Linked DNA regions of Homo sapiens: region 2 is linked to region 1. Evidence: promoter capture Hi-C in 16 types of primary human blood cells and fetal thymus (Javierre and others, 2016). All regions are on one chromosome and are shown on one strand. Each heading gives the region's core, a stretch centred on a gene start or on the middle of the fragment in contact. The rest is flanking DNA. Distances are from core to core; before and after follow the strand shown. Region 1 holds the start of BCL2L2 (BCL2 like 2). Region 2 holds the start of AJUBA-DT (AJUBA divergent transcript).

The links. Contacts are between HindIII fragments. The CHiCAGO score rates a contact against its expected background, and 5 or more counts as called.
Region 2: a contact is called between a fragment that was not itself captured here and the fragment with the promoter of BCL2L2 in region 1, in 1 of 17 cell types (neutrophils). The highest score is 5.5, in neutrophils.

What each region holds. Positions count from the first base shown.
Region 1 is chr14:23,303,477-23,310,312 of GRCh38, reverse strand. BCL2L2 (BCL2 like 2) reads right to left here and starts at 3,480. Exons shown (of 4, transcript NM_004050.5): 1 at 3,419-3,480; 2 at 3,034-3,121; 3 at 2,114-2,553; 4 at 1-1,497. The coding sequence starts at 2,545. The coding sequence ends at 1,348. BCL2L2-PABPN1 (BCL2L2-PABPN1 readthrough) reads right to left here and starts at 3,480. Exons shown (of 8, transcript NM_001387346.1): 1 at 3,419-3,480; 2 at 3,034-3,121; 3 at 2,114-2,553. The coding sequence starts at 2,545. RefSeq lists an enhancer at 1,788-2,621. The HindIII fragment of the contact is 2,126 bases long and covers 2,108-4,233 here.
Region 2 is chr14:22,983,191-22,989,720 of GRCh38, reverse strand. C14orf93 (chromosome 14 open reading frame 93) reads left to right here. Exons shown (of 7, transcript NM_021944.4): 6 at 1,706-1,818; 7 at 2,087-3,827. The coding sequence ends at 2,506. AJUBA-DT (AJUBA divergent transcript) reads right to left here and starts at 5,397. Exons shown (of 3, transcript XR_007064074.1): 1 at 4,901-5,397. RefSeq lists a silencer at 2,881-2,990 and an enhancer at 6,190-6,530. The HindIII fragment of the contact is 743 bases long and covers 4,032-4,774 here.

The DNA.
Region 1 (6,836 bases), core at 2,231-4,730:
GGCATGCATCTGGAGTGAATAATTTCTTCCTCAAAAGAAAAAGCCATAATCTGAAGCTGTTCTAGAGGACTGCGAGTTCCAAAGTTAACATCCTCAGACTCTGAGGTACAGACAAGTAACACCCATGCAAACAGTGTGGCTTCAAATAAATCATAAATGCTTCTAGGTCATGGTAGGTACTCTAGAACCCATATGCCTGGCCCCTGATAAAGCCGAACCAAAGCCCACAACACAGCATAGGCCAGTCCTGGAGTACCCATCACCCTCACACCCATGGGATTCAGATCTGAAATGGTCATCTCAAGGCATCAACAGTCTCACTGAGACACAGTGTGGGACCCAGACTGTATTCTAGATCAGCACTTATGCCCACAACCTCAAAAGGAAAATTAGTTAGGGCCCCAATTTAGAGTTTCAGTTTGGGTACAGAGGTCCCAGAGATTGGAAACACTTTAGGCACCATTGTGCCTGAGTGGGAGAGGAGGGTGGCAGGCAGGTCCGGCTACCTAAGCCTCCACCCATCCAGGCTCAACAGCCCTGCCCTTCTATCAGAGCCCAGGAGGCAGCAGCAAGTGCATAATGCACAAGGAAGGGGGATGATGAAGGAACAAGGCCAGCTGCAGAACTGCTCTTCTCTCCAAAGCCTTGCCAATCACTTTCTGGAAAGAAGCAGCAGAGCCCTCGGTCTGGATACAATGTTTCTCTCTAAGCCTTGAGGCATCAGGACAAGGGCAGGGGAAAGGAGGGGTTGGGAGGAGGGACAGAGAACTGCCCCTAGTTCTTGCCATTGCAAGAGGGAATGTTTTCTCCTTGAGGAATCCCATCACCACCAGATTTGCCAGGCAGCCCAGCATGCACACCAGCATGCGTGCACATGCACACGCGTGTCCAAGCAGCCCACTGTTAACAGCCACCTCTCCCTATCACCTGAGAACCCCTAAGCTTCCATTCCAAAGGGATGTGCCTTCTGCGTTCCCTAAATCCCACTCATCTAATGGAATACAGCTGCTTATGTAAGTCCACCTTCCTCAGGGCTGTGAAGCAAGTTCCAGGTCGTTTCATGTGCCCACACCTATAGGCGTGATCCCTCCCACCTCCCCCAGCCCTGGAACGACTACATCTCCTGTGCCCCTAAACTTGCCAAAACATTCCCCTCCCCTCTGTGTCCTGCTCACTCTTCCAATCGCCTACCTGGCCTACTCAGCTCCCTCACACACTACCCTTTCTCTGCCCATCCTGTTCCATGCCCACCCATCCACCAACTCCACTTCTTCCAAGGGCATTTCTCTGTTCTGTTCCTGCTCTCCTGGCCCCCAGCCACACCTAGCCCCACCTGGCCCTGGACTTTCACTTGCTAGCAAAAAAGGCCCCTACAGTTACCAGGGCCCCCAGTGCCACGGCCCCCGTCAGCACTGTCCTCACTGATGCCCAGTTCCCCTCCCGCAGACGCCGCGCCTCCTCCAGGGCCCCGTCCCCGTATAGAGCTGTGAACTCCGCCTGTGGGAGAGAAGGGAAGCAGGAGAGAAAGAAGGAGAAAGGGATATCAGGAGAGGAAAGAGTGGAGAGAAGAGGAGAGGAAGAGTTCCAGTTCCATCCACTGCGAGCACTACCCCATACCCAGCTCCTCTCTGGCCAAAGCTCTTCTCCCTGCAAGCCCCTCTGATCCCCCCAGGTGCACCCCCACCCTGAGAGACTGGTTCATCTGCCCACTCTGCCTCCAGTGAATTCCATCCTTTCCTTGGCGAAAAATTCTGCTCAGAACTAGCATCCTTTGCCAAGGCTTGCCTGACCACCACCCATCCCTGGTCCTCCCCACCTCCCACGCCATGACTCAGATGTAAAAAGTCCCTGACAACATTCCCCTGCAGGCACTCCTTGGGTGTGTATTCTGTCCTCTGCTTGGGACCATGAGCCCATCCAGTGTTGACTGCATGGCAGCCCTGGAGTGCAGAGTCCAGGCATCTCTCAATCTAATTCCATCCAGACGGGGAGACTCAGCCCCGTACCTCATTCCCAACATAGCTGCCTCAGCCTCCAATCAGAGCCCCCATCTTCCCCCTGGAGACCAGCTTTGCAGAAGGATGTGCAGAGCGGCAATTGAGAAGCTTCTTACCCAGCCCCCACTGCTGTGGATCCAGTCAGCCAGCTGCGTCTCCAGGTAGGCCACCATCCACTCCTGCACTTGTCCCACCAGTGGTTCCATCTCCTTGTTGACACTCTCAGCACACAGTGCAGCCCCAAAGACAAAGAAGGCTACAAGGCGGCCCCAGTTGGGGCCCCCTTGAAAAAGTTCATCGGAGACCTGGGTGAAGCGTTGTTGGGCTGAGCCTGGGGTCACATGCAGCTGAGCCGCCAGATCAGAGAAGGTGCGCCGGAAGCGGGTCTCGAACTCATCTCCAGCTGCCCGCATGGCTTGGTGCAGCGGGTCAGCTGCTGGGCCCTCCCCGGGGCCAGCTCCACAGACATAACCCTTCTGCCTCAGCTTATAACCTACAAAGTCTGCCACCAGAGCCCGTGTGTCTGGGGCCGAGGCTGGGGTCGCCATCCGGGCGGCTATAAGAGGCAAGGATGAAAGACTGGCATGAATATATGAAGAGAGAATCAGAAGGAGCACTTCTGGTTTGACCAACCCAGTGAGATGAGGAGGAGAGAGGAAATGCTCAGGACTCACTGGACAGGGAGAGGCAAGAACAAGGGAATTAAGTCATGATATGAGACTAGGCTGTGAGTGGCTGGCCATTACATTCCTAATATGCCAAATTAAATGTAAAACAAGTAAATTTTCTGTTTAGGATACTTTAGATTCTTTTCACAATAAGACAACGTCAGCTCAATGACACCCCTACAACACCCCCACCCCCGGGTCTCCTTAGTCCACACCTTCTTGGCTAGAGGAAGGGTCTTAGGACCTCCCCAAATGCAAGATGTAAAGATGTTGGCAGAGACACAAGATGAGGGGGAGCAGATGGGCTGAAGAGAAAGGTGGGAGACGCAATGGGTTACTCCAGACAGAGAAAGGAAGGAGACACTCACCCAGCCGGGATGGCAGCTCTTAAGACACAGCACTGGTGGCAAGGAGCCCCCAGCTGGGGCCTTTCATCCTCCTGGCCAGCGTGGAGCCCTGGAAAGGGGAGGGGGAGATCAGAACCAGGAGGGGAAGGCCAGGGATCAGGTTCTGGCCTGGGAAGGGCTAGGGTTGCAGCTCTGGGCCTAGGCCCCTGCCCCCAACGCTCTACCAGCTGTGTGGCCGAATCCATGTTTAATGACTGTCCTCCCGGGAAACCCAAGGCCAAGGGCTTCCTGCCGACACCATCTCTATTCCCGGTTCCCCCTAGTGCAGCCCAAAGGCCCAGCTCCTCCCTTACCCCCACCTCAGCCAGTCTCCAACCCCGCCCGCCTGCCAGGTTAGGGATCTCACGGGTCAGGCCGCTGCCGGGATCCGGGCCGTTTCCTGGTGCAGGAGCTGGGAGGGAGGGAGAGAGGGAGGAAGGGAGGGAAGGAAGGAGGGAGGAGAAAGGGGGGGGCAGAGGGAGGGCCCGGCGCCGGGTGATGATGGGGCCCAGAGATGCGTCCAGAGAGAGGGGCGGGGCTGGGACGCAGGCCTGCAAAGGGCCACTACTCAGGAAGAGGGAGGGCTGCTGAAGGCAAAGAAGGGCTGGCTGAGAGGGCACGGTGGGCTGGGCTGGGCTGGGCTCCTGAGCCTCTAGGCTGCCCAGAGAAATATGCCGGACTTCGGGACATCTCGGGGCAAATTTAGCATTTTCAGGAGGTTTCCGATGTTCCATGCACTTGTTGAACTTTTCCAGCCCTGAACTGTGTGCCTGGAAAACAGGAGCAGTTCCCATTAAGCTGGGAACCGTCTACCAGGTGCCTTACCCTTATGGGGCTAGCAGACACCACATAGACACCAAACCTTTCCCATCTTTTCTCCAGGACCTTTAACCCAGTGTTCTCTTTGTGGGCTGGGCTTCAGCCAGGCATTAGGGAGCCAGGACTTGGATCACAAGCAGTTTCTCTCGGTACTTTTCTTTAATTCATCTTCTTTTGTAATTAGATTGATTTTAGTGGGGTTTTTTTCTTTTTCTTTTTTTTACCCAACACACAAACTCATTCTCATTATGAAAAAAATCAAACAATAAAGACGTGCGGAGTAATAAAATACAGGTTCTCAAACACACACACACATACACACCCAATTCCACTTCCCTCCCTGCAGGTTGCCAGTGTTAAGCTTGATGTTTATCCTTCCAGATTACATATATATGGGGCCATTATTTATACATGGCAGTATATTTATACAGGGCAGGTCACAGGCGTGAAGCAGTCTGACCATAGCTGATCCACATGAGGGCACTCACAGCCAGCCCCCTGGGCTCTTGGATCTGGCACTTTTTTAAAGAGTGCCCCAACCAAAGGCCAGAAAGAGGCAACCTAATTCTCCTATTCTGCTAGCTCCCTTTGCTTCTACCTCCAATCCAAGCCTCTGTATTACCATCTTCCCTTATGGTCACTGGAGAAGCAAGGTCTTTTCTGCAGCAATAACAGTAACAACTAGCTGGGTTCGGTGGCTCATACCTGTAATCCCAACACTTTGGGAGGCCAAGGCGGGTGGATCACTTGAGGCCAGGAGTTCGAGACCAGCCTGACCAACATGGCAAAACCCCATCTCTACTAAAAATACAAAAATTAGCCAGACGTAAAATACAAAAATTAGCCAGCCTGTAATCCCAGCTGCTCAGGAGGCTGAGGCATGAGAATCACTTGAACCCAGGAGGCTGAGATCATGCCACTGCACTCCAGACTGGGTGATAGAACGAGACTCTATCTCAAAAAAAAAAAAAGGTAAAAACTAACATATTTTGAGGAGTTATTAGATGCTGTGCTTTTTTTACATGTGTATTTTTTCCTCTCACCAGTCCTTATGCTGTTTTATCCTCATTCTATGAATGAGGAAATTGAGGTTTGGAGAGGTTAAGTGATTTTCCCAAAGCCATAGGCTGATATGTAAGAAGCTAGCACAGCCATCTCATGCTGTAACTTTGACACTATCGCTTCAAGATCACCTCTTGCCTTCACATAGTCAATATGGTTCTCATAGTCTGAATCCACACCATTTACAAGTCCATACTCAATTCTCTCCTCTATTCTAAACACACAGCCTATTACACTCCTTTATGGCTGTATCCTTTCAACCATCCTCATTTCATTTTTGCTCTTAGCCTGATCATTCTGGCTGCCACCAGCAAGGTTGCCCTCTTCTTTAGAGAATAACCTAGTCCAAGTCTTCATTTGCACTCCTGGTTTATTTGTTTGTTTGTGATACAAGGTTCTCACTCCATGGCCTAAACTGGAGTGCAGTGGTACAAGCACAGTTCACTTCAGCTTCCACCGTCTAGGCTCAAGCAATCTTCCCACTTCAGCCTCCCTGGTAGCTGGGACTAGAGGTGTACTGCACCATGCTTGGTTAAATTCATTTTTTATAGAGATAGGGATCTCATTATGTTGCCCAGACTGATCTCAAACTCCTGGGCCAGCTTGATTGTAACATAAATTAATGTATGATTTATTAGACATTAATTTATATGCATTATATATATTATATTGTATATGCATATACAATATATACATTGTATATATTGTATCACATATAATGATACGAAGAGAATACATCCATGCATTCTATATACGTGTAAAATTTAAAAAGTCAATATTGCTTTAAAAATGAGTCCTAGCTAACTAGTATTGCTACAGTCAATACTAGTGCGAATGCATGTAAACAGGAATGAATTGTATAATAATAAGATAACATGTGTCTCATGGTTTATTTTCAACTTAGTCACTTGTGGTTTTACAGTTAAACTATCCTGCTGCTTTAAATTTAGAGACTTCATTTCTACTCTAATATTCCCTCTTTTAACACTCTGAGGATGTTAACTATTATTGTTAAATGTTTTAATCTTATATAACCAAGCGGGTAAGAGCGTGGACTCTAGAGCTAAACTGTTTAGGTCCTAATCCCACCTCCCCAATTATTAACTATGTGACCCTGGGTAAGAGTCCTCTCCCCTCTCTCCCTCAATTCTCTCATCTTTAAACTAGACATAATAGTCTCTATTCCTCTGATGGTTGTATTACATGGGTTAGTATTTGTAAAACCCTTACAACAGTACCTAGCACATTGTAAGTGCTATATTAGATCAGTAGGAAAGTTAGAAAAAAACTAAAAACAACTTCACTTTTTTTTTTCACTAATGTTAAAAAAAAAAAATGAAAGGGGAAAAAGCCAGCTCTGCCCTTCTTGGAAGCTCCCACTGGACCTATAATTCCACAGTCCCAACTCCAAGAGAGTTGTTGGGTGCTTGTTCATTCAATAATTTGAGTGCCTACCATATACTAAAACTCACCATGAATCAGACAAAGCCCCTGCCCTCAAAGGGCTTACACTTGGATTAGAAATCAGAACTCCACCACTTTTTTACAGATAAGAACACTGAGTTCAGAGTATGGCTCTGAGTTCAGGGGTGGCTCACACCTGTAATCCCAGCACTTTGGGAGGCCGAGGCGGGCAGATCACCTGAGATCAGGAGTTCAAGACCAGCCTGGCCAAGATGGTGAAACCCCGTGTCTACTAAAAATACAAAAATTAGCCGGGCGTGGTGGTGGACGCCTGTAATCCCAGCTACTCAGGAGGCTGAGGCAGGAAAACCGCTTGAACCGGGGAGGCAGAAGTTGCAGTGAGCCGAGATCACGCCACTGCACTCCAGCCTGGGCGACAGAGCGAGACTCCATCTCACACTCACACACACACACACACACACACACACACGAGAACACTG
Region 2 (6,530 bases), core at 3,154-5,653, 320 kb after region 1:
CCTATGCCATCCTTTCTCCCCCTCTCCTCCCACTCCTCTTTCTTGGTCAGAGGAGAAGAGGAATAATAGAGATGATTAGGTGGTTTTGAAAATAGTGGATTTGAAACATTTTTTGGCTATTCTCACCTTCAATATATTCATAGAATTATCTCAAATTGCCTGTTTATTTCCCTCTCAGTCTGAAACGAAAATGAGAGAAGGAAAGGGCTAGAACAGCATCATGCATTCTGTTTATGCAGGTCTTGCACCTAAGGTGTTACGAGGAGGAGGAATCTAAGGTGTTATGAGGAGGTGTTATGTTCAGAAGCCAGGCCTGCCCCTTGGTCCCTAAATATTATTTCCCAGGCTTTCTCTTTCCTTGCTCTCTTTTGTTATTTGTAGCTAACCCTGAAGTATTATGAAAGCTTCTGCTGAAAAAGTACTTGTAGAGCCAGGTAACGTGGCTCATCCCTGTAATCCTAGCACTTTGGGAAGCCAGGGCAGGAGGATTATTTCAGTCCAGGAGTTCGAGACTAGCATGGGCAACATGGCGAAACCCAATCTTTACCAAAAACAAACAAAAATAACAAAAATTAACTGGGTGGGGTGGCATGCATGACGTAGTCCCAGCTACTTGGGAGGCTGAGGTGGGAGGATTGCTTGAGCCTGCGAGGTGGAGGTTGCATTGAGCCAAGATCGTGTCACTGAACTCCACTGTGGGCAAACCTTGTTTCAACGAAAAATAAAAAAATACTTGTAATCTTCCATCAGAGTGGCAATAGGGGTAGATTGTTGTTGTTTTTAAATTTTTTTTTAAATAGAGACTGAGTCTCACTATGTTGCCCAGGCTGGTCTCAAACTCCTGGGCTCAAGCAATCCTCCTGCCTCAGCAGGAGGCCTCCCAGAATGTTGGGATTACAGGTGTGAGCCACCACGCCCAAGAAGGGGTAGGTTTTATTTGGTGGAGGGAGCGGGGAGACACAGAAGCGATTGGAGTTGTCTTTTTCCAGTGGGAGATATTTGGGAGGAGTTAGTGTTGGAGATGGAGGTGGGCAAAGAAAGCTAAACCAATTAGCCGGCCATGGTGATGTGCACCTGTAGTCCCAGCTGCTCAGGAGGCTGAGGCTGGACGATCACTTAAGCCCAGGAGTTGGAGGCTGCAGTGAGCATGCATGACCATGCCACTGCCCTCAAGCCTGGGTGACAGAGCGAGACCCTGTCTCATAACAAAATCATAATAAAATAAATAAATAAAAAGAATCCTAACCAAAGAGGAGTGAAGATGCTAATGCCTATGCCAAGAAAGCCCAGCATCTAGGCCAGGCACGGCTGCTCACGCCTGTAATCCCAGCTCTTTGGGAGGCCAAGGCAGGTGGATCACCTGAGGTCAGTAGTTTGAGACCAGCCTGACCAACATGGAGAAACCCCATCTCTACTAAAAAGAGCTGGATGTGGTGGCACATGCCTGTAATCCCAGCTACTCGGGAGGCTGAGGCAGGAGAATCGCTTGAACCCAGGAGGCGGAGGTTGTGGTAAGCCGAGATTGTGCCATTGCACTCCAGCCTGGGCAACAAGAGTGAAACTACATCTCAAAAAAAAAAAAAAAAGCCCTCATCTAAGTAGTGATCGCCAACCTCCCATTCAATAGTGTTAGGGCAGAAAAACGGGCTGGGGACCACTACTCAGAGGACCCTCCTTCTTGCTCCCTTCCTTCCCTCCCCGCCAGGAGCCTGTGTGGCCTACTTCCTTACTAAGAGGCGTGAGTACCGCAACTCCCTGAACCCCTTTAAAGGCCTGAAGGAAAAAGAGGAGAAGAAACTTCGAAGTCGCCGATATCGGGTAGGTTTCTAGGCCTTTCTTTCAAGATACTAAACTCTAAACCCTTTCCTAAGTGGGAAGGGCCAGAGGACATGGCATATGAGAATAGGGTTGAGAGCCAGGAATGTAGGAAGATAGAGAAGAACAGTGAGCCAATGCTAAGATCTGACTTGGGGACTGGGTTCACTTAGGCACAGATTTTACACAGCCTTCCCCACCAAACCTTTTCCCCAAATCTAATCCATAGAATGTTTACCTTCCTAATCTATCTCCTGGGTTCCTGCCTTAGCTTTTTGCCAACCGATCCAGTATCATGAGGCATTTTGGACCTGAGGACCAACGTCTGTGGAATGATGTGACAGAGGAACTGATGTCAGATGAAGAGGACAGTCTTAACGAGCCAGGTGTGTGGGTGGCCCGCCCTCCCCGTTTCCGGGCCCAGCGCCTCACAGAGCTCTGCTACCACCTGGATGCTAACTCTAAGCATGGCACCAAAGCCAACCGTGTGTATGGGCCTCCCTCAGACAGACTGCCTTCTGCTGAAGCCCAGCTCCTTCCACCAGAACTTTACAATCCTAATTTCCAAGAAGAGGAAGATGAGGGAGGGGATGAGAATGCACCTGGCTCCCCATCTTTTGACCAACCCCACAAAACCTGCTGTCCTGACTTGAACTCATTCATTGAAATCAAGGTGGAAAAGGATGAATAAAATCTACAGCCAAGAATAACTCTGGCTTCCGCCATGCCCCATGTCTCAGAAATAGGTGGCCATGGGGCTTCACAAAATAATGAGATGCTCTGTGCAGTCTGAGAAAGCAAATTTGCCTCTTTTCTTAACACAGTCTCTACTGGGGAAGCAGAACACTGGTGGGATAAAAACTTATCTAGAAGGGGAGAAACTCCCTCCACTGTGAACAGTAAGCCAGAATATGCTTATTCCTCAGCATAAACAGTATCTCGGAGAAGCCTGGGATGAGAAAATGAGGAGGATGGGTCCAAGAAACATGAGGCCTTCTTGACATATGCCCTGTCTCTGAGTTGTTTCTGCCCCTGCCCAGTTCCACCCAAAGCTCTGAGGAAGCAGCCCAGGTTGTACCTTTTGCTTCCCTGTGACTACTTGTCTTGCTCTGCAGTGGAAACCGAACATGACCAGTGCAGGTTAATACCGCCACCTGGTGGGCAGTTTCAGTCATGAGCTTGAGTCTTCTGACCAAGGGAACACAAGTTCTATCACTATTGGGGAATTGGGTTCCTGATATAATAGCTATTGTTTATTGAATTACATGAGGAAAATTTTACTATTCCTATCTTACAGATGAGGAAATTAAGGCTTAAAGAGTTCCCGTGTCTCACCGGCAGCCTCTCTCTCACTATGTGACCAAGCAAAATACACAGCTTTGTAGCTGTTTCTTGGTCCTGTCAGCCAAGCTGTATTTTGAGGAAGGGGTGTGCATTTTGGATGGATTGAAAAGCAAAAATGGCTTTACATTTATTCAGTCTTATAACAAACATTGATCGCTTTACTAGGTGTCAGGTACTGTGCTATGGATACATTGTTGATAAGGTTGGATGCTGTTCAGAGATTTTTTTAGTTTAGTCAGGAAGCCAGGCAGTGGAGTAGGCAATGAAATGAACTGTGATAAGGGTGACCATGGTGGAGTGTAGTGCACTATGGCAATATACAGCAGGGGTAGCTAACCTACTCTTGCAGTCTGGAAAGGCTTCTTCTGAGAGGGTGTAATGTCTAAACTGGGGAAGAGTTAACCAGAAGGAAAGGGGAGGCTAAGAGAGTGTTCCAAACAGGGAACTGCAGGTACAAAAGTCCAGGGGCAAGAGAGAGTACAGACAAGGTCCAGTTCTACTGCAGACTTTTGGGGAAGGGATAATGCTAGAGGAGAGGCTGGAGAGTGAGACAGACCTCATAATACAGAGTACAGACTTCAACCCAAGGGCAGTGAGAAATCATTGAAAGTTTGTTTTAGCAGGGAAATAAAACGACAGGTTTTGCCTACAGGCAGTCCCCAACTCAACGATGGTTCGACTTAGGATTTTTCAACTTTACGATGGTGCGAAATGATTCAGTATGCTCCTCACCTTATGATGCAGTTATATCAGATAAACCCATTTTAAGCTGAAAATATGGTGAAGTTGAAGAAGCACTTCTGCCTTACGATATTTTCAATTTATAATGGATGGGTTTATTCAGACATAACTCCATTGTAAGTCGTAAAGCTTCTGTACTGAAAAAAATCACTTGACCTCAGGGTATAAGATGGATTGCAGGGAGCAAGCCTTGGCCAGGAGACTTTTGCATTGGTTTCGGAGAGGAAAGACGGTGACTTGACATATATAGTGGTGATGAGGGGAGGACAGATTTGGAAGATGTTTAGGAAGCAGAATTAATAGAACTTGGTGATTGATAGGACTTGGTTGGATTTGAGGTTAAGGGAGAAGGAGGACATAGGGTTGACGCTCAGATTTCTAGTTTAAGCAGCTAACAGGATTGTGCCATTTACTCAGAGAATGTTAGAGGAGCCAGTTTCATGAGGCAGAGAAGATGAGATCAGTTTAGGATATTGGGTGCTTCTGAGACAGCCATTGGAGATGCTAGTAGTTAGTTGAGTTTTTAATTCCAAGAAAGACTGGGCTGGAAATATGGATTAGGGAGTCACCTGCATATACAGATTATAATTAAAGTCTTGGGAACGAAGAGGGCCTTTGGAGATCCCAGCTCCAGTTTAGACTGTGGAGAGGCCACCTGAGGTCATGAGCACTATTGGAGCATGCCCTATTAGCATATGCGTCTTCTACTTCTTCCCCTTCACTCATCTCTGCTTCCAGTTATCCCTTGAAAACACAGGCTGTTCATCCCAGTTGTGCCCATTGCTACCACCAACTCTTGCATGGGCCTCCTTTAATGGCCTCCCAACATTTCATAAGATTTCCTCTCGCATCCTCACCCCAAAGGATCAAAGCTTCCAAATATTAGTAGTTGTGTGGATATTTTGGATGTAATTGGAAGGAAGAATCAAAGTTCTCCTTCCTCATCTGGACACAGGAAAGGAGGGAACACATTATGGTTAATTCTGAAGATGTTGCTCACAGCAGGTTCTAGATGCAATCCGATAGCTCCCCTCTGTTCCTAGTGCTTTCAGTCCTCCCTGCTTCCACTCTGGTAGGAAACTCTCCTCAGGATCAGAGAAAAGCCGTGGCCTTGACCAGGGAAACAGAGGCTGATTCTCAGGGGAGATGAGGTCAGGGAGACAATGCAACTAGGACGAAGAAGCCAAATAGTTTGGCACAAATTAATTTCCCAAAAGATATTAACCTCGTTTCTTTCCACATTCCCTAAGGCTACACTAAGATTATAAAAGGTGTTCAAAATGTTGAGATGAAAATAATATGCATGACTTGTTTGCATATAATTTTCATACTCATTTACTATCTAAATACAAAGGAGTCATTTTCCTTCTCCATTCTACTTCCTCCACCCCTTGCCCCTGATGTTTTAGTCTGGGCAAAAGTAGTTGGCTGGTTTTTAAAAAATTTTTTTGAGACGGAATCTCCCTCTATCGCCCAGGCCTGAGTGCAATGGCACAATCTCGGCTCTCTGCAACCTCCGCCTCCTGGGTTCACGCGATTCTTCTGCCTCAGCCTCCCAAGTAGCTGGGACTACAGGTGCACGCCACCACACCGGCTAATTTTTGTATTCTTAGTAGAGACGGGGTTTCACCATACTGGCCAGGCTGGTTGCAAACTCCTGACCTCGTGATCCCGCCGCCTCTGCCTTCCAAAGTGCTGGGATTACAGGCGTGAGCCACCGCTCCCGGCCGTTGGCTGGTATTTAATTAGGTATGTTTAGCTTCATCTAGGGTTTCTTTAAAAAAAATTATTATTTATTTTTGAGAATTTTTTTGAGACGGAGTCTTGCTCTGTCGCCCAGGCTGGAGTGCAGTGGCCGTGATATTGGCTCACTGCAACCTCTGTCTCCCGGGTTCAAGCGATTCTCCCGCCTCAGCCTCTCGAGTGGCTGGGACTATAGGCGTGCGCCACCACGCCTGGCTAATTTTTGTATTTTTAGTAGAGATAGGGCTTCACCATGTTGGCCAGGCTGGTCTGAACTCTTGACTTCAAGTGATCCGCCCGCCTCAGCCTCCCAAAGTGGTGGGATTACAGGCGTGAGCCACCGCGCCCGGCTGCTTCAGCCAGGGTTTCTTTTCCTTATTCTTGATCCTTTTAAAATAGTCAATATCAGCCTCTTTTCCATCCTGATCATTTTCATTTGCAATTTCCTCTACACGGCATTTCTTTTCTTCCTCTTAATACTTACTCTGTATCACCAGTCTTCTGTGGACCAAAACCAAAGGGAGAAGGTGTTCGCTAGCCCTAAAACCAGGCCTTCGATCTCCACAGTCACCTGAAATGAGAAAAATCTCATTTCCCAACACCAGGGGGTGTCTATCCCTCTAACTGTCCTACCCTTAAGGTAGAGATTAGTCCCAAACCTTTTCCTCACTCCTTTTCACTGCTTCTACATACACACTATATCTCTTTCCCTCCCTCTCAAAGTAGAGATTAGTCCCATTTTCCTGACTCCTTTTCACTGCTTTTACAAATCACAAAACTTTTGGGTCCAGAAGGTGGTGCCTTTTTATTGCAGTTTATCTGTTTGTCTCTCATTCTCTCTGGACAAGCTTGTCCTTTCCTTTGTCTGCGCACCCTTCGGTCTCTGC